Linked DNA regions of Homo sapiens: regions 1, 2, 3, 4, 5 and 6 are each linked to region 7. The links are contacts of gene promoters, found by promoter capture Hi-C in blood cells and fetal thymus (Javierre and others, 2016). All regions are on one chromosome and are shown on one strand. Each heading gives the region's core, a stretch centred on a gene start or on the middle of the fragment in contact. The rest is flanking DNA. Distances are from core to core; before and after follow the strand shown.

Region 1 (2,733 bases), core at 28-2,527, 300 kb before region 7:
GGCCATAGCAGATTGGACAAGGGGTGGGCCCTGGATTTGAGCAGCAATCCTGTCTACCCAGCAACCTACAGAACTTCTGGATATGAAAAGATGAGCTGGACCTTTCACAATCTCTCTCACAGAAATTTGAACTAAAAGTATCCAGGCTAGGAGTATTAGCTCATCCCTGTAATCCCAGCACTTTGGGAAGCTGAGGCCACTTGAGCCCAGGAGTCCAAGACCAGCATAGGCAACAGGGTGAAACCCCATCTCTACAAAAACTACAAAAAAATTAGCCGAGCATGGTGATGCAGGCTGAGTAGTCGCAGCTACTCAGGAGACAGAGGTGGGAGAATCACCTGAGCTCAGGGAAGTCGAGGCTCCAGTGAGCCATGATTGCACCACTGCACTCCAGCCTGGGCAACACAGTGAGAACCTGTCTCATAAATAAATAAATAAATAAAGGTATGCAAAAATAGAGGAGTTAATGGTTGTAATCAGAGCTGAAAAATCCAATATGGAGAGAATGGCCTTGAAATGGCTGTCTTTACCCTCAAGATGTCTTAGACTAACCAGAAAAGCCCTTAGGGGGGAGACTTATACATGCACCTAACATATGTAAATCCAACTAGAGGCCTTGGGCAAAATGAAACAAAAGGTGAGAATGGTGTGGGGGATTCAGGCCACTGCTAAAGGTTGAAATCTACCTGGCTGTGGACCACAATTCACACCTTTACACAAAGGGGGGTGAGGGTTGAGGGGTTCTCCATTGCTAGAGACTCTCCACTCTCCGGGGGCTCAAGTGGTTCATACTAGAAGCAGCCATTACCACAGGCTCCTGGGAAGAGAGACAGGGGCCCTGGGTACCCACTTCATCTCTTACGCCCCTTCTGAGCCCAGCTTCCACTCTCTGAGGGTCTGGCTGGCCTCTTCTGACTGTGACCCTCCCAATTTTAGGCAGGTAGGAAGGGGTCTGCAGAGCCCGCTCCCATGCTCATGGCCTCTCCCCAGGCCTACTCCTCCGATACAGCGCCAACGAGGCCCAGGCCCTGGGAGGCAAACTGAGACCCCTGACCTTTAGGCCACGTTGGAAGGTGGAGATGGACAGCAGGGCCAGGTCTTGCTGCTCCTCAGCGTAGCGTACCAGGTACACATAGACAAGCTTCTTCACCTTGGGGAGAGCACGTTTCTCAGCAGAACGCTTCTCAGCAGGCACCTGTGCCCACCCCCCTACCCCTGGGATGTCATCTCCCCAGCCAGCTGCGGTCCATGGGGACAAACTCTCCCAGTGGGGGAGAGCACCCCTGAGTGTATCCGGGTCCTTTACCTTGATCCACATCCAGTTCAGGGACATGGAGACAGTGTCTTCTCCTGGCTCAGAGACATTTCTCAGCAGGTCGGGCCCCCAGGGGCTAAATCATTTCCTTCCTCACCCCAAGCTTGAGTGTGGTCCTGGGGGAGGTGGGGACAAGCAATCCCTCACCAGGTAGTGCTCACCTCTATGTTCTTACAGGCCACGTTCTTCACCACCGCGGGAAACAGGTCTGAAGCATTCTTTCCTCGGGCAATCATCTGGGTGGTGGGGTCAAGGTAGGGGAAGAGGGACAAAGCGAGAGGCACAGCACTAACTAGAGGGAAGGTCTACAAGGAGCTAAGGAGAGCTGCTCTTGGCCACCCAGGCCCCGCCCGGAGGGAGGCCTCCTCCTTCCCCTCTTACCGCCACAATCCTCTTCATGGCCTCCAGCTTGAGAGAATCCTTGTTGGTGTCCAGCATCTCCTTCAGGTCATCATGCCTGGTGGGAGGTACAAGAAGTCAGCTGAGGGCACAAGGGTGGGGATGGGGTATTAATCAGGAGGGTCCAGGCACAAAGAAGGGACATGGCCAGGGGAGGCTCAGGCAGGACCTGACCCGAGGAGGGACCAGAGCCAGGGGGAACAAGTAAAGTACAGATCAGGGGAAACATGTGGCCAGCTAATATTGTGGGTTGAACTGTGTCCTTCCTAAAAAGGATATATTTAAGTCTTAACCCCTAGTACCTCAGAATGTAACCTTATTTGGAAATAGAGTTGTTGCAGATGTAATTAGTTAAATGCAATCCTACTCTAATAGAGTGGGTCTCTAATCCCATGTCTGGTTTCCCATAAGAAGACAGCCATGTGGGCTGGGTGTGGCGGCTCACGCCTGTAATCCCAGCACTTTGGGAAGCTGAGACGGGAGGATCACTTGAGCCCTGGAGTTCGAGACCAGCCTGGCAACATGGTGAAACAATGTGTCTACAAAAAATAGATTAAATTGAAATTAAAAAAACACAAAAAACAAAAGACAGCCACTTAAAGAGACAGACACAGGGAGACTACCATGTGAAGGCAGACGATTGGAAAGATGCGTCTACAAGCCAGGGAATGCCAGAGACTGCCAGCAAACAACCAGAAGCTAGAAGGGGCAAAGAAGGATTTCCCTATGGGTTTCAGAGGGAGCATGGTCCTGCCGACACCTTGAGTTCAGACTTTTGGCCTCCAGAGCTGTGAGACAATTCATTTCTGCTGTTCCAACCAACCCAATTGTTGTACTTTTTTTTTTCAATTACTAAACTTTTTTTTTTTAATTATACTTTTAAGTTCTAGGGTACATGTGCACAACGTGCAGCTTTGTTACATATGTATACATGTGCCATGTTGGTGTGCTGCACCCATTAATTCGTCATTTACATTAGGTATTCCTCCTAATGCTATCCCTCCCTCCTCCCCCAACGC
Region 2 (2,869 bases), core at 139-2,638, 360 kb before region 7:
GTATACCCTATGACCCAACAATCCCTCTCCTAGGAAGATAACCAAGGGAAATTAATTCACCAAAAGATAATAGCAGCACTATTCGCAATGGCCCCAAACTGGAAACAACTCAAATGCCTATTAACAGTATAATGAATAAGCACTGGTACATTCATACAATGGAATACTGTAAAGCAACAGGAATCAATGACCCACAACCAGTTGCAACATGGATGAAACTCACAGCTAAAGAGTACATATCTGGGCCGGGTGTGGTTGCTCACCCCTATAATCTCAGCACTTTGGGAAGCCAAGGCAGGCGGATCACGAGGTCAGGAGTTTGAGACCAGCCTTGCCAATATGGTGAATATGGCCAGTATGTCTCTACTATGTCTCTACTAAAAATACAAAAATTAGCCGGGTGTGGTGGCATGTGCCTGTAGTCCCAGCTACTTGGGAGGCTGAGGGAGAAGAATCCCTTGAACCTGGGAGGCGGAGGATGCAGGGAGCCAAGATCACACCACTGCACTGTAGTCTGGGCGACAGAGCAAGACTCTGTCTCAAAAAGAAAAAAAAAGTGTACATATCTGTGATTCCATTTATGTAAATTCAAAATCAGGTACAATTTATCTATGCAATTAAAAGTCAGCATGAACTGGGTGTGGTGGCTCATGCCTATAATCCCAACACTTTCGGAAGCCAAGGCAAGGAATTTGCTTAAGCCCAAGAGTCCAAGACCAGCCTGGTCAACACAGCAAGATTCTGTCTCTACAAAAACTTAAAAAAAAAAATTAGTTGGGCATGGTGGCGCATGATTGCAGTCCCATCTACTCAGAAGGCTGAGGCAAGAGGATCACTTGAGCCCAGGAGTTCAAGGCTGCAGTGAGCTATGATCATACAACTGTGCTGCAGCCTGGGTGACAGTGATACCCCATCTCAGAAAAATAAAAATTTAGCATAACAAGTGCCCTTTGTAAACTAGAGACTGAAAGGACTGCAAGGGGAATTTTGGTGTATTCTTAATTTTTGCCTCTACATGTGACTAGTTATACAAGATGTGTTCAGTATATAAAAATTCAGTGAATAGTACACTCATACTTTTCTGTAAGTTAACTTCAACAACACAAGTTAAATCGTTGCCACTTAACTGTTAAAGCCACACAGTAAGGTTCCATAAAAGTTTATTTTGTGGGAAACAAGACTTCATGAGAGTAATTTCAATCATTTCCTGCAAGATGGGACTGAATGTATTAAACTTTGTTTTGGAATAGCTTTTCAGACAATTTAGTGACGATACGGTTTATGATCCAGTACAATAAGAAGTGAAACCATCTCAGTCAAAAATTCAACATTAGTCATGCCAGTAATCCCAGCAACTTGGGAGGCTGAGGCAGGAGGATGGCTTGAGGCCAGGAGTCTGAGACCAGCCTGGGCAACACAGTGACACCATGTCTCTTAAAAAAAAAAAAAAAATCCAGGCCAGGTGCAGTGGCTCACGCCTGTAATCCCAGCACTTTGGGAGGCCGAGGCAGGCGGATCACCTGAGGCCAGGAGTTCAAGACCAGCCTGACCAATATGGAGAAACCCCGTCTCTACTAAAAATACAAAATTAGCCAGGGGTGGTGGCACATGCCTGTAATACCAGCTACTCAGGAGGCTGAGGCAGGAGACTCACTTGAACCCGGGCAGAGGTTGCGGTGAGCCAAGATCCCGCCATTGCACTCCAGCCTGGGAAACAAGAGTGAAACTCCATCTCAGAAAAAAAAAAAAAAAATCTAACATCAGGCTACAACTATACAATTCTTTGGTCCTACATTAAAAGTCAGCAGTCTATTTAGGTCTGAGAGCTGGTTACATGGTTGTGTTCAGTTTGGGAAAGTTGGAGCTCTTCGCCTATGATACAGCATGTACTTTCCTGTATGTGTATTATATTTCAGTTTTTAAAAACTGTTAAATAAACATATCAGTGCTAAACCTTACTTAGGACTGCTTTGGCTAGTCAATTCCTTTCTAAACCTCCAAGCTATTTTAACTGATTATTGAGAAATGGCATCTCAGTGAATTAATATGAAACTGCTCCTCCAATCATTGCCTCCATCCTAAATATTAAGTCTCCCTACCCATATAGCAGTTAAGACATCCCTTAATGATGTTTCACCACTTTTCACATCTTTACAGACACCGTTACTAACAACTCAACACATTAATGCTTAAATCACATGTCCATTTGCAGCCCATTTTCTCCATTCCTCACAGATTCCAAAAGGTCTATGGCTTAAAGGACTAGGGAATGTGGAGAGGGCCCTCTAGGTGGCAGACATCCCTGTCATCTCCACTAGACAGTTGTTGGGGTAGGAAATCCAGCTCTGGCCTGACCTTCCAGCCCCACCCTAGCTCCTACCACCCATCATGCAACAAGGGCCTTCTTGGTGGGGTACTAGCCCAAAAGCTCAGGCCTTTGCAAAACCCTCTTAAACCACAGCAAGTCATAACTTTCTTGTATATAAACGGGGAATTCAGATGCTCCAGCTACTCTTTCCCTGCCCCGCCACATCTCTCTCCAGAGTCGCACTCTATCACCCAGGCTGGAATACAGAGTGCAACCTCGGCTCACTGCAACCTCCGACTCCCCGGTTCAAGCAATTCTCCTGCCTCAGCCTCCCGGACTACAGGCACGCACCATCATGCCCGGTTAATTTTTCTATTTTTAATAGAGACAAGGTTTCGCCATGTTGGTCAGGCTGGTCTCAAACTCCTGACCTCAAGTGATCTGCCCACCTCGGCCTCCCAAAGTGCTGAGATTACTACAGGCATGAGTCACTGCACCCAGCCCACATCTCTTCTTCATTAATTTCTATTCAGTCAGGGATAGACAGCAAGTCAGCTGTCT
Region 3 (2,700 bases), core at 59-2,558, 400 kb before region 7:
GTTGTACCCAAATGTTTGAAGATTGCTGTTGCCTAATTCATGAATCCCCAATGTTTTTAAAAATCTCCCCGACACCAGGTTTTTGTTGAATTGCTTTTGTTGAATTGCCATCCAAGTGGTCCTAAAGACAATGGCATCTTCTTGCAGCATTCTACCTCACTGGTTACAGTGATGGTCCCATAGGTAAGTATCTGACTCAAGCTGGGCAAGAATTACCCATTCCCATGACTACAGAGACCAGTCCAGGTATGGGTATGACTTAAGCCAAGCTAGCTGGGTATCTTTCCTTGAGATTTTTCTAACTGTATATAATGGAAAAAGAACTATTTCCTGATTGTCCATGATGCCAAAGGATGTGAGCATATACCCTTTCTCATAACTGGCAACTCTGCAAAAGGAGATAATGAAACTCACACTGGGAAATGAGCAGAGGAAAGACAGAAATAGACAAAATTGGAGGCCACAGATTCAGTATCCCTAGCTTTCCAGTGATTCCTTCCTATTCTATGAGCTTTGTATCAACAGCGTTCCAACATACCCCACATTTTACTAAAGTAAGTTCTAATTTGGTGTTTGATTTTTTACAAACGGGAGTGTTCTGCGTAATTCAGGCCCTTTAGCAAGGATAGACCAAACAAGTAACTACTGCATGCAGGATAAAAATCTCTGGGACAAAAGCCCTTAATATCCTGGCACCAGCTAAGAAAGTCAGCCACAAAAGAAAGCAGGAAAGAAGCTTAAAGACCACCTTGTCAAATTCCTCGCCATCCCGTCTTTTTTTACTAGAAAGCACACAAGGCTCAGAGATGGCCATAAGCGACAAAGCTACTAAAAGGCAGAAGATCCAAATCTCGATTTGTTGGTCTCAAATACAGGGACTAACTGATCCCCTGACCTCTCTCCCACAATGGGACACTTTCTAGACCCAGGTCTACACTCATACATAATAACCCTACTCAGACCTGTTTTATCATTAAGTTAGCAAAGGATCCCTTTTCTGCACTCAGGTCCCCATACTGTGTACTAAACCTATCCCATCATACTAGGAGTTCTTTTTTTTTTTTTTTTTTTTTTGAGACACAGTCTCACTCTGTTGCCCCGGCTGGAGTGCAGTGGCGTGATCTGGACTCACCGCAAGCTCCGCCTCCCGGGTTCACGCCATTCTCCTGCCTCAGCCTCCCTGAGTAGCTCGGACAACAGACACTGGCCACCACGACAGCTAATTTTTTGTATTTTTAGTAGAGATGGGGTTTCATCATGTTAACCAGGATGGTCTTGATCTCCTGACCTTGTGATCCGCCCGCCTCAGCCTCCCAAAGTGCTGTAGGAGTTTAATTCTTAACACTAACTCCCTCACCCTCCCCACTACTCTCTCCACAATCTGCTACTTATTCAGCAGAAAGTCAATTTCACATTCGGGTGTTTCTAAGATTTCGCTGCTATGTGCATATATTATTTTCAAAGGCGATAATTTTACTTCTTACCCATGGAGAGCAAAAAAGACGACTGCTGATTCAAGGCTAGCATCATCCAATCTACTGCTTATGGTATGGGGGAGTTCTGAAGCACGCCATCCTGAAGACTCTGGTTCAGAGTCCTTGAATACAACATGCCATCTAGGTTGTAGGTAACAACTAGTTTTAGTAAAACTAGTATAACCAAAACACAATGAAACATTACTTTACCTGACACTACACTGTTCAAATTGGGGTCTGCAGAAGTTCCTTAAACAGTACATCAAATTGGAGACCCTTTACAGTGCCAATCACGACTGCATCTACATAATATAAAAGCCAGTTATTTAAAACAGGAAGGCAGGGTATTTCCATATAGAGGGTAAATTGGTACAACATTCTGGAGAGCAATCTGACAAAAACATTGAAAGCTTCAAAAGATTTATTCTTTGATAAAGAAATACTACTTTTAGAAATTTATCCTATGTCCAAATAATCACAGATGCAGGCAAAAGCTTTAACTTCAGGTACTTCTTATAAGTGTATAAAATAGGCACCTATTTAAACAAACTCCAAAATACGAAAACTGAATGCCAGAGGTTAACCTTTTTTGTATCATGAACCATTTGGCAGTCTGCTAAAACCAATAAACCTTCTAAGAAAAATGTTTCAAAACATATAAAATAGTAATAATATTGAAATAGTAAATAAATGTCAAGGTATGTACAATGCCTGTAAAGGAATCAATATGAATTGTCTGATCATCCTATTGATACCAAATTATTAGGTCCTGCTAATATTGTGACTTGTTGCCTAAACTTACAGTTAAAAGAAATGCAGCTGGGCTTGGTGGCTCACACCTGTAATCCCAGCACTTTGGGAGGTCGAGGCAGGTGGATCACAAGGTCAGGAGACAGAAACCATCCTGGCTAACAATGTGAAACCCAGTCTCTATTAAAAATACAAAAAATTAGCCAGGCATGGCGGTGGGCGCCTGCAGTCCCAGCTACTCAGGAAGCTGAGGCAGGAGAATGGCATGAACCCGGCAGGCAGAGCTTGCAGTGAGTGGAGATCGCACCACTGCACTCCAGCCTGGGTGACACAGCGAGACTCCGTCTCAAAAAAAAAAAAAAAAAAAAAAAAAGCTACGTTTCAGTTAAACATCACTGAACGTGAAGATACAAGTTTTTACCTGTCTAAATTATTGGACCCCCTGAATTCTATCCATGTACCCAGGTTAAGAATC
Region 4 (2,895 bases), core at 201-2,700, 420 kb before region 7:
GGCATCAGATAAAGAAATCAACAAGGCTATATAGGACATTTACTTAAGAGTTCCTTCTCTCTGAAAACACTGGGTGGGAGTGGAGGACAACACAGAGAGGCAAGACAGACACAGTAACCATGAACAAATAAGAATATAAAAAAAGAATGGTAAGGATTATCATAGTTTCAGGAAAAGTGATGGCTAGAACAAGCTGATCACTGTGAAAAACATTCAAGACAACCCAAGGGACTTTGTAAGCTCACACGGAGCAAAACCAAAAGGAGCAAGGGCCTACTTAGAGCAGAAAGAGAAAAATGTTATTAAGGATTTAAGGACATTACTGGGTCACTTGACAAAACTGGAATATGAATGACAGTTTAATCAAAGTAGTGTTATCAACTTTAAATTGACTAAAGTTAACTGTTTTGTTACATATGAATGTATGTAAGATCATCTCTATTCTTTTTTTTTTTTTTTTTTTTTTTTGAGCAAGGGTCTCCCTCTGTAACCCAGGCTAGAGCGCAGGTGCACAATTACAGCTCACTGCAGTCTCAACCTCCCACTTCAGCCTCCAAAGTAGCTAGCGGCATGCCACCATGTCTGACTAATTTTTTTTTTTTTTTTTTGGTAGAGGCAGGATCTCACTCTGTTGCCCAGGCTGGTCTTGAACTCCTGGGCTCAAGCAATCCTCCTGCCTCAGCCTCCCAAAGTACTCAGGTCACAGGTGTGAGCCTCCGTGCCTGGGCCAATTATCTCTCCTCTTAATGATTCAGAAAACAATTATGTATTGATACATGGAGAGAGAATGTGCAAATGATAAAGCAAATGGGGTAAAATGAACACGAACAATAGGAGGTTCTGGATAAAAAGGATTACAAATATTCTTTGTATAATTTTATTTGTATAACTTCTATAAATTTGAAATTATTTCCATTTTTTTTTAATGACAGGAAGAAAAACAAGTCAATTCCCATTTGGCTTTCTTTGCCTCTTTCAAGGTAACTTATCTAATCAGCAGAGGGAAATCAAGCACAAGTAATAGGAACTAGGATCCCAGAGGATAAGACAGTAATTGAGTACTTTTGGAGTCTCTATTAGAAGAAATAATCTTTTAAACATGCTTTTTAAAGTCTCAAAAAAATCTGCATAGATATTTGCAGGCCCACATGTGTAAAAAGTTGTGCCTTCTCAACCAAGCATACCAAGACCAATCTTTACCATCCTACTCCAATAGCAATTAGCTCAACATCTGGCAAAAAGCAGGTGAACAATGACTGCTGAATTCTACTGAAAGACAGAGAGTACGTATTCCATAGAGCCAGTACGCTAAGGCCCTACCCTTTTCTATCAAGGATATTCAATTTAAGGACACAATGGTTTTTTTTGTTTTTTTGTTTTGTTTTTTTTTGAGACGGAGTCTCGCTCTGTTGCCCAGGCTGGAGTGCGGTGGCGTGATCTCAGCTCACTGCAAGCTCTGCCTCCCGGGTTCACGCCATTCTCCTGCCTCAGCCTCCCGAGTAGCTGGGACTACAGGCACCTGCCACCACACCCGGCTAATTTTGTGTGTGTGTGTGTTTTTAGCAGAGATGGGGTTTCACCGTGTTAGCCAGGATGGTCTTGATCTCCTGACCTTGTGATCCACCCGCCTCAGCCTCCCAAAGGGCTGGAATTACAGGCGTGAGCCACTGCGCCCAGCCTAAGGACACAATGTTGACTTAGAGTGTAATACAGATTTAGGGGAATAAACCTTAACTCATCCCTACCCAGCCCATCGCCAAAACAGAGGTTTAAAAACCAGTGACTCACCGCATCACATCTGCGACAATACTTCTTCCCTGAGTCTCAATTTCTTCAAAGAGAAAAAGGTTGAAGAAAGCTCCTCTGCTTGAGGAGGGGCAGGGTGGAAATCACTCTGTCCTAATCAACCCTCCCCAGACTCTACTGGGATCTTCAGGGCCACTGCAATACACTCCTACATTCAAGTACAGGAGCAAGAAAGAGTGTCTCACTGAATTATATACCAACCACATAGAAAAACGGGGAAAGGACTTGGATTGATGGCTCAGAAAGGGGCAATGCCATCCTAGAGAATAGGATCAGGGTGCCCCAGAATTAACACGTGGGATGTCAGCATCTCCATGCATCAGTTTCCTGCAAATATTAAATCAGAAGGGATATACTGTAAATTTGACTAGAAGATACCAAGAAGACAAGAGGCCTAGAACTTGCCAGCTGGTTTGATATTTCCTTCAACCCACAGAACAAGTGAATTTTGTGGAAACTGCCACCCATGGTCAGATGCCCTAGAGTGACCTAATTGTACCTCTATAGGGTCTGGCCAGGCAGTTCTCTGAGTGTCTACAGATCAAAGGAAGGAAAGCAGCAAAGACAATGGAAAGAAAGCAGCAAAGCAGCAAAGACAAAGGGAAGTGGGGGGACCTCATTTCAAGAAAGAAAACCTGTCTTGCTCCCAGCTCATGAGACCATACCTGCCCTATGTAAGGTTGCTGAGTACGCAGCACCGATTTCCACCAGCTGGGAATCAGAAGGAAAGGAGCAAAATAGCTAGCGTTAGACTGTTCCCATTTATATTCAAAGCCACGAGCATACCTAACTGGAAAGGCATTCTCTTTAAGCCACACAAACTAAAATCCAGTGGAAATGACAGGTCCCTTATAATGCAGGCCAGTGTCTCATCTCAAAGTCCACTCCCCATCATGGGGCACACAACTTCATAATTCCAAATGTCAAGTATTAACCTAGATGGATTAGAGGAGGGGGAGGGGTGGTGAGAAGTCCTAGAGTCAATCTCCAATAACGGCCAAGGCCCTGACCTCTTTGCTCTGTTCTTTCCTGGCCTCCAGAACACAAGGGATCATGGAAAGTCTGAGGTTTACCAAGTGCCTCCAGCTC
Region 5 (2,700 bases), core at 52-2,551, 310 kb before region 7:
CGCTGGGAAAACGGGATATCCACATGCAGAACAATAAAACCAGACCCCTATCTCTCACCATATGCAAAAATCAAATCATAGTGGATTAAAAACTTAAATCTAACACTTCAAACTATGAAACTAATAAAAGAAAACATTAGAGAAATTCTCCAGGACATTGTACTGGGCAAAGATTTCTTGAGTGATACCCCACAAGCACGGGCAACCAAAGCAAAAGTAGACAAATGGGATCACATCAAGTTACAAAGGTTCTGCACAGCAAAGGAATCAACAAAGAGACAAGCCACAGAATAGGAGGAAAAAATTTGCAAACTACCCATCTGACAAGGGATTAATAACCAGAATACGTAAGGAGATCAAATAACTCAATAGGAAAAAAAAATTCAATAATCCAATTTAAAAATGGGCAAAAGAGCTGAATAGACATTTCTCAAAAGAAGACATACAGATAGCAAACACGTATATGAAAAGGTGATCAACATCATTGAGCATCAGAGAAATGCAAATCAAAACTACAATGAAAGGCCAGGCACGGGTGGCTCATGCCTGTAATCCCAGTACTTTGGGAGGCTGAGGCAGGCGGATCACCTGAGATCAGGAGTTGAGACCAGCCTGACCAACACAGCGAAACCCCATCTTTACTAAAAGTACAGAAATTAACGGGGCGTGGTGACGCACGCCTGTAGTCCCAGCTACTCAGGAGGCTGAGGCAGGAGAATCACTTGAACCACAGAGGCAGAGGTTGCAGTGAGCCAAGATCGCACCACTGCACACTCCAGCCTGGGTGACAGAGCAAGACTCCGTCTCAAAAAACAAAACAAAACAAAAAAAGATATATCATCTCACCCCAAGTAGGCTTATATCCAAAAGATAGGCAATAACAAATGCTGACAAGAACATGGAGAAAAGGCAACCCTTGTACACTGTTAGTGGAAATGTCTGGAGAACAGTTTGGAGGTTCCTTAAAAAACTAAACATAGGCCGGGCACGGTGGCTCACACCTGTAATCCCAGCACTTTGGGAGGCCGAGGTGGGTGGATCGCGAGGTCAAGAGATCAAGACCATCCTGGCCAACATGGTGAAACCCTGTCTCTACTAAAAATACAAAAAATTAGCTAGGCGTGGTGGCAGGCACCTGTAATCTCAGCTACTTGGGAGGCTGAGGCAGAAGAAGAATCACTTGCACCCAGGAGGCAGAGGTTGCAGTGAGGCAAGATCACGCCATTGCACTCCAGCCTGGGAAAAAAGAGTGAAACACCATCTCAAAAAAAAACACTACAAATAGGCCAGGTGCAGTGGCTCACGCCTGTAATCCCAGCACTTTGGGAGGCCGAGTCGGGCAGATCACTTGCGGCCAGGAGTTCAAGACCAGCCTGGCCAACATGGTGAAACCCCATCTCTACTAAAAATATGAAAATTAGCCAGACTTGGTGGCGGGCGCCTGTAATCCCAGCTACTCAGGAGGCTGAGGCAGGAGAATCGTTTGAACCTGGGAGGCGGAGGTTGCAGTGAGCTGAGATCATGCCATTGCACTCCAGCCTGGGTGACAGTGCAAGACTCCATCTCAAACAAACAAACAAAAACTAAAAATAGTGCTACCATATGATCCAGCAATCCCAATGCTATGTATATACCCAAAAGTAAGGAAATCAACATATTGAAGTTATATCTGCACACCTACGTTTATTGCAGCACTGTTCACCATAGCCAAGATTTGAAAGCAACTTAAGTGTCTATCAACAGACAAATAGATAAAGAAAATACGGTACATATGCACAATGCAGTACTATAAAAAAAGAATAAAAAAGAATGAGATCCTGTCATTTGCAACAACATGGATAGAACTAGAGGTCATTATTTTAAGTGAAATAAGCCAAGCACAGAAAAACAAACTTCACATGTTCTCACTTATTTGTGAGGGCTAAAAATTAAAAGAATTGAGCTCATGGAGTTGGAGAGTAGAATAATGGTTACCAGAGGCTGAGAAGGGTAGTGGGTGGGGGAAGTGGGGATAGTTAATGGGTACAAAATTATAGTTAGATAGAATGTGTAAGATCTAGTATTTGACAGCACAACAGGGTGACTACAGTCAACAATAATTTATTATACATTTATAAATAACTAAGAGAGTGTAATTTGATTGTTTGTAACACAAAAGATAAATGCTTGAGAGGATGGATACCCCATTCCCTGATGTGATTGTTATGCATTATATGCCTGTATCAAAATATCTCACATACCCCATAAATATATACACCTACTATGTACCCATAAAAATTAAAAAATAAAAAGAAGACGGTCTTGCTAGCAGACTGGCTCTAGAGACTTTCTCCCTTGTGGCTTTGGAGAAATTAAGCATCCGTGTTGGGAGGCCCCTATGGCAATGAGCTAAGGACGGCCTCTAGAAGGCAAGGGCAGCCCCCAGCTGACAGCCAGCAAGAAGCCAGGGCCACAATCCTACAACTGCAAGGAAGTGGATCGTGGCACCATGTGACTTGGAAGTGGACCTTTCCCCAGTACAGCCTCCAGATAAAAACTCAGCCTTGGCTGACACCTCAGTTGTAGCCTTGCATAAGATCCAACTAAGCCATACCTGAATTCTCGACCCATAGACACTGAGAAAATAAACGTGTGTTGTTTGAAGCCACCAAATTTATAGTAATTTATTATGTAGCAGAAAACTAATACAATTGATTTAAA
Region 6 (2,841 bases), core at 81-2,580, 350 kb before region 7:
CTCAGACACACACGCGCAAACACTCTCTCTCTCTCTCTCTCTCTGGGTGCCCAGATTCTAACAAGCTATTCTGGCTGGCAACATTTTACATATGTTGTCAGTTGTAGGGGAATTAAACTATGTCCTGTTTAACTCTCCCGGGAAAAGAACATTGGAAGCTTGTACCAGATTTCACCCCACGTGCCTTTTCCCTTTGATGGTTTTTCTCCATATCCTTTAGCTGTAAGCTTAGCTATGAGAACCACTATATGCTGACTCCTGTGAATCTTCCTAGTCAATCATCTAATTTAGGCACTGTCTTGGGGGACCAGACATAACAGGCGTTTGTTGTTTTGTCCTATTTTTAGGGACAGGGTCTGGATATGTGGTCCAGACCAGAATTGAACTCCTAGGCTCAAGGGATTCTCCTGCCTCAGCCTCCCCGGTAGCTGGTACTACAGGTGCCACAACTAGCTTGCTTTTTCTTCAGATTTTGAATATTATGAATAAAACTGCTGTGAATATTCTTGTGCATGCCTTTTTATACTCATATGTGCTCATTTCTCTTGCACATAGGAACACAAGTGGACTACCAGGTCATAAGCTAGTACCCCTTGCGCTTAAAATTCTAGCAATACTGTACTTCTAGTTGCCTAAAAACAGCCCTGTTTCATATCTCCTTGTCCTTATACATGTTGTTCCTTTTGCCTAGAATGTCCTTCCCACTCCCTACACTATGCCTGTTTTGGCAATAACCTTTAAATCTTTTACCTGCCTACTTCTGATGTTATTTCTGATGAGGAAAAGGAAGAAATTGGTTCTGTTTTTATATCTGCTGGGTTTAACATACCTCAGATAGATACACGCATTCGGTAGTCCAATCAGAAGTATAAGTCTTCAGAACAACCAAGGCTAAAGAGCTCAATCTAAAACTTGGGCACACAACAGTCAACTGGTGCTTCTATAGGAACACATGGGTCTCCTGTATATATAAGGAGACAGGAATGATCCAACAGGGTTGAACTGTGAAGAATGCGGCATTTGGGGAGAAAAGGAAGCCTGCAAGTACCAAGACAAGACAAGATTGATCAGATAAGGAAAAAAAAAAAAAAGGAAGCCATAGTCTTACAAACCAAATGGACATTTCAAGTACAATAAGAGACCAACACAGCAGAGGTAAGAGTGTATGAATTTTACAAATAGTACTAGTCTAGAAATGAGAAAACGTGGGTTCAAGTTCTGTCTCTATTCCCTGCTCACAGTATAAAATTAGGGTAATCACTTTCCATTCTAAACTTAATTCTCCTAGTCCATGAAAAGAGGATGTCAGAGATTATATCTGGCTTTGGTGTCAACTCCAAGTTATATGTAGGAGACAGGTCTCTAACACCTTTTGAGCTTCACAACAATTCCAAGATTACAGCTTTAAAAAAAAACAAAAACAAAAACAAAAAGCCTCAGGAGAAAGGGCAGACACATGGGAGACAGACAGATGGTGTCAGGGCCAGAACCCAGGAGCACAAAGCCAGAATGCAGAGAGCACAGGTGTTAAGTAGTAAGAGATTAAGTGTTCTGTAAAAAGACACAAAAAAACCAACCTGCCCTTCACAGTAACTGTTCTCTTCCAACAGAGGAGAGCTACTCCCACACTTTTATCAAAGGGGATTGTAGGAAGTGGGGCTAAATCTGTCAGGATGGTACATAAAGCAGCATATTATGCTGGCCAAGAATAAAGAAACAAGTAACACTCTTAGTCAAGTTACTCCTAAAATCAATAGCTACTTGCAACCAAGACCCGTTTTTAGCATACAAACCAACCTTTAGACCTGCCCTCTGGGGATTCTCCTGTTACCTCAGGGGAACTCATCACGAATGCCTTAAATAAATCAAAACAAAGAGTGTTAACTCACTATAATTTAAAAGGACTGTTCCACCATTCAAGAATACAAAAAAAAAAAAAAAGAATTCAAAGGTTATCCATGCCTAAGTGTTCTCCTGAACTACTGAAAGTAAAGCTCAACCCCAGTCAGTCAGGAATCCTCCCAGGTCCAAGTTAATCAAAACCACATTATATATTAGGGTGGCAAAATAATCCCTAACATTGGGCTTTAAAATGACACCTAATAAAATTCATTGGAAATTACATCTACAATGTGAATTTAGCACTCTGAAATTTGGATACTAACTTTTTACAGCAAGTCAGATAATTTTCCTATGAAAATATGAAATATTACATCATACATGTTTTAGTTCAATCTTTTTCAGCTAGTTTACTATAATTGAGAAATGCACTGTTGGGGCAGGTCCTATCTTCAACATAAAAACTTTCTACGGAATCTGTGCTCACAGAAGATGAGACGCTCTAAAGCAGGCTGCAACAACGGCAGGAAAAAACTAAGGGCATTTCCAAAACTGCAATGTTGGGTGCAAAGGAAGCAAAGTTCATGGTGACCAAAAAGCTTTAAGAGCCTGCATGGTGGCTCATACCTGTAATCCCAATACTCTGGGAGGCTGAGGCAGGAGGATGGCTTGAGCCGAGGATAAGCCTGGCCAACATAGTGAAACCCCATCTCAAAGAAAAAATTTTTTAAAAAGTAGCCAAACATGTTGAATGGCTGTAGTCCTAGCTACTTCGGAGGCTGAGGCTGAAGGATCCCTTAAGCCAGGGAGCTTTGAGGCTGCAGTAAGCTGTGATTGCACCACTGCCCGCCAGCCTGGGTGACACAGTGAGACCTTGTCTCAAAAAAAACCTTAATAATAAAATCTTAAAAGGCTTAAGAAACGGTAAAGGGTGCAATCAGTGCTTCTGGGTCTTAATTCAAACAAGAGAAGCAAAATTCTTACATAACCCCCTCTACCATA
Region 7 (2,897 bases), core at 52-2,551:
TAGGGGGAAAGACTTGCAAGTAAATAATTTTAGTTCGAAGTTAGAAAGTGGTAATAACTAAATACATGAAATTCCAGAAATATGATGGACTCTCAATAGAAAGAAAAATTATTTCTAGGTAGAGATGTCACTTTCTAAAGCTTTAAATAATGGAAAGAATTTCAACATTTGGAGATGAGGGGGAGAGACAGGTATTTCATGCAAGGGACATGAGCAATCTATAAAAATGTAATAATTTATGCATGACGTACTTCACAGGGTCTGGTTTACCACTGACTGAGGGAGAATGGAAGGGGAACAGCAGAAAATAAAAAAAGTTTTGAATCCAAGTTAATAAACTTGACCTTTAATCTACAGGCAACAGAGAGCCATTGGATCAGCTATTTTGGATCACGGTGGTGCTTGAAGATGGCTACACCTATAGCAGGTATATGTAAGATAGGCTAGTAGCAGAGTGATGCTAGAGGCAGGACATCAATGAGAAAGGTACTGCACTGACACCGTGCAGGGGATGGTAATGAGAACGTTGATTAGGTGGGGGCAGTGGGTAAGAAGATGCAAGAATTACTGTAGGGGTACAATCGACAGGACTTGGCAAGTGATTGGAGCATGGAAAGGCAAGAAAGGGCATCAAATCTGACATCAAAGTTTCCAAGTTGGTTGTATTAACAAAAACGGGTGCATAGCCTGGGAAGTAATTTGGGAGGGAAGAGGCCAAGCTTTGTCGGGATATTAAGTGTTTATACATTTGCTGAACATCCCACAAGACATGGGCAAGACTCTTGGAAGTAGCTGGATACTGACGACTGAAGCTGGAGCAGAGAGGGGGTATGTTTCTGCAAAACCACATACAAAACGGACTACGGAAATCTTACTACCGAGGCTTGCCCAGGCAGGAGAGAAAGGTGTAGCATCCCTGAAGTCATCAGTCGTGTCTACTCTTCACCGCCTGCTCTCACCTCACGTTCCCCACGAAGACTCCGGGAGCAGGCGGCCGGAAGGAGCCCTTCCCTCCCTTCTCCGGTGATTCCCAGAACTTCCGTCTCTACCCGTCACCTGCTCCCAATCAAAGGAGCTTAATAGACGGCGACGTTTTCGACTGCCCAGCCACCAGGCAGGCTGAAAGTGCATGGAGGGCATCATCCACCTTTAGACAGCTACTTGCCCACACCTCATCGAGCTCTGGGCGTTGTGCCAGCATTTGAAGAAGCGATCTGTTGCAAAGCGATCCACACGGAGAGCCTTAGTTATCGCGAGACTTGACAGGCACCCTCAACTTTAGCCCGCCGGAAGCGGAAGTCAGGTGGTTGTCGGATTTTAGAGGAAGGCGCTCGGTTACATTGGAGAACTGGAGTGGTCTGGAGTTCCACGGTGTAGTGGACCAGAGGCCACCTCTCCTGGGCTTCTCAGTGTCTCGCCGGCGGGGTTCGGCCTGAGCTGGATTGACATAGCCCTTGGCGGGTGAGTCGCCCCGGACGCCCGGGAGGAGGGAGCGGGGCGGCCGAGCTGGGTGGCCAGCGAGGTGTCCTCCCCCTGTGCGGTGATCTGTACTCTTTGCTAGACCGAAGCCCGTTTACTTCTCACGGCCCATAATTTCCCTCACTTCTGGAGGTATAAGGTGCTTCGGAAGGGAGCAAATCTGCCAGAACCTTGGTAAGCAAGCTGTGATGTGCCTTGAGGACGGACTGGAAAACGCAGTTGTTTTCAGTCTGCATCTTCGTCTGTTCCCCGGGCTCACCTCCCAGGGCAGCGAAACCCCATTCTGGTTGGTTATTTCCAGGGTTAGTCGCCCGCAGCCAAAGTTCTTTGTGGTTTTATTTGTGGTGAATAAATTAGCAGTATTCAAGTACAAATCTGAAAGGCTTACCCTAAAAGAACATACATACTTTATGAAGTTTGTATTCATACTTGAACTATTTTGCTTTTGAAGGCCCAGAGGACAAATCTTGTAGCTTCTTGCTCTTGAGAACCAGTTCCCTCTTTGGAATATTAGCTTTGGAAGTCTTTAGAGCGTTTTTTTGGTTTGTTTTTTGTTTTTTTTTTGAGACGGAGTCTCGCTCTGTCGCCCAGGCTGGAGTGCAGTGGCGCGATCTCCGCCTCCCAAGTTCAAGCGATTCTCCTGCCTCAGCCTCCCGAGTAGCTGGGACTACAGGCACATGCCACCACGCCTGGCTAATTTTTTCTATTTTTAGGAGAGACGAGGTTTCACCGTGTTAGCCAGGCTGGTCTCGATCTCTTGACTTCGTGATCTGCCCGCCTCGGCCTCCCAAAGTGTTGGGATTACAGAGGTGAGCCACCGCGCCTGGCCTTAGAGCACTTTTACTCCAATTCTTTCCTTGAATAAGACTCTTATGCGCCACCCTCCCCTACAAACACCTTTTGAGAGTTTCCTTAAATAAAGTCAAGTTTGTTTTTTTCCTCCCACAGATTTAAACAACCTAAACATTAAGCAGTACAGCTGCCTCAAACCTTTGGGGTAAGTAAAGCTTGGGTCGATTAACATTCTATTTAAATTTCGTTCTCAGTAATAATACAGTTGATATTTGTTTACATGAGTATGGGTGGGGAGTCGTGGGAGAACATATGAGAACATAAAAATGGAGTAGCACCTTTTCCTTGCCTTATGATTTTTACTGCCCATCTGGATTAGGTATGGGTCATCTTTTTAGTGATTTCTGTGATCCCACTAGAATTCTAGACATGATTTTTAATTAGCTGAATTTATTTAAAACTCATTCCTTGGATTTGAGAATTTGATATAGTTTGCCAATCCCAGACACATTGAAAGTCTGATATTTGGTATTTGATAAAGCATACTAAGAGCAATAGCCTGAAAGATAAGAGTGTCAGGCTGGGCGCGGTGGCTTATGCCTGTTATCCCAGTACTTTGGGAGGCT

What was found. The method cuts DNA at HindIII sites, captures the fragments that hold promoters and counts their contacts. A CHiCAGO score of 5 or more calls a contact.
Region 1: a fragment that was not itself captured here is called in contact with the fragment with the promoter of RAMAC in region 7 in 7 of 17 cell types (naive CD8 T cells, total CD4 T cells, non-activated CD4 T cells and 4 more); the score reaches 8.7 in naive CD8 T cells.
Region 2: a contact is called between a fragment that was not itself captured here and the fragment with the promoter of RAMAC in region 7, in 2 of 17 cell types (naive CD8 T cells and non-activated CD4 T cells). The highest score is 7.0, in naive CD8 T cells.
Region 3: a fragment that was not itself captured here is called in contact with the fragment with the promoter of RAMAC in region 7 in 6 of 17 cell types (total CD4 T cells, activated CD4 T cells, M0 macrophages and 3 more); the score reaches 6.8 in total CD4 T cells.
Region 4: a fragment that was not itself captured here is called in contact with the fragment with the promoter of RAMAC in region 7 in 7 of 17 cell types (activated CD4 T cells, naive CD8 T cells, M0 macrophages and 4 more); the score reaches 9.8 in activated CD4 T cells.
Region 5: a contact is called between a fragment that was not itself captured here and the fragment with the promoter of RAMAC in region 7, in 8 of 17 cell types (naive CD8 T cells, non-activated CD4 T cells, total CD4 T cells and 5 more). The highest score is 9.6, in naive CD8 T cells.
Region 6: a contact is called between a fragment that was not itself captured here and the fragment with the promoter of RAMAC in region 7, in 5 of 17 cell types (erythroblasts, total CD8 T cells, activated CD4 T cells and 2 more). The highest score is 9.7, in erythroblasts.

Annotation. Positions count from the first base shown.
Region 1 is chr15:82,687,682-82,690,414 of GRCh38, forward strand. It overlaps AP3B2 (adaptor related protein complex 3 subunit beta 2), which reads right to left. Exons shown (of 27, transcript NM_001278512.2): 2 at 1,697-1,772; 3 at 1,477-1,551; 4 at 1,055-1,150. The region is part of intron 3 of CPEB1-AS1 (CPEB1 antisense RNA 1); the gene reads left to right. Among named protein-coding and RNA genes, the nearest start is that of AP3B2, 21 kb to the right of the region's middle. The HindIII fragment of the contact is 277 bases long and covers 1,140-1,416 here.
Region 2 is chr15:82,619,884-82,622,752 of GRCh38, forward strand. The region is part of intron 3 of CPEB1 (cytoplasmic polyadenylation element binding protein 1); the gene reads right to left. Among named protein-coding and RNA genes, the nearest start is that of CPEB1, 26 kb to the right of the region's middle. The HindIII fragment of the contact is 6,371 bases long and covers 1-2,869 here.
Region 3 is chr15:82,581,686-82,584,385 of GRCh38, forward strand. The region is part of intron 3 of CPEB1 (cytoplasmic polyadenylation element binding protein 1); the gene reads right to left. Among named protein-coding and RNA genes, the nearest start is that of RPS17, 43 kb to the left of the region's middle. The HindIII fragment of the contact is 1,149 bases long and covers 735-1,883 here.
Region 4 is chr15:82,562,914-82,565,808 of GRCh38, forward strand. The region is part of intron 4 of CPEB1 (cytoplasmic polyadenylation element binding protein 1); the gene reads right to left. Among named protein-coding and RNA genes, the nearest start is that of RPS17, 24 kb to the left of the region's middle. The HindIII fragment of the contact is 4,848 bases long and covers 1-2,895 here.
Region 5 is chr15:82,670,478-82,673,177 of GRCh38, forward strand. All of the region lies in intron 14 of AP3B2 (adaptor related protein complex 3 subunit beta 2), which reads right to left. All of the region lies in intron 3 of CPEB1-AS1 (CPEB1 antisense RNA 1), which reads left to right. Among named protein-coding and RNA genes, the nearest start is that of CPEB1-AS1, 24 kb to the left of the region's middle. The HindIII fragment of the contact is 8,602 bases long and covers 1-2,700 here.
Region 6 is chr15:82,639,828-82,642,668 of GRCh38, forward strand. The region is part of intron 1 of CPEB1 (cytoplasmic polyadenylation element binding protein 1); the gene reads right to left. Among named protein-coding and RNA genes, the nearest start is that of CPEB1, 6.1 kb to the right of the region's middle. The HindIII fragment of the contact is 2,211 bases long and covers 226-2,436 here.
Region 7 is chr15:82,984,909-82,987,805 of GRCh38, forward strand. RAMAC (RNA guanine-7 methyltransferase activating subunit) reads left to right here and starts at 1,302. Exons shown (of 4, transcript NM_031452.4): 1 at 1,302-1,461; 2 at 2,428-2,476. It also overlaps a transcript of HOMER2 not described here. The HindIII fragment of the contact is 1,767 bases long and covers 718-2,484 here.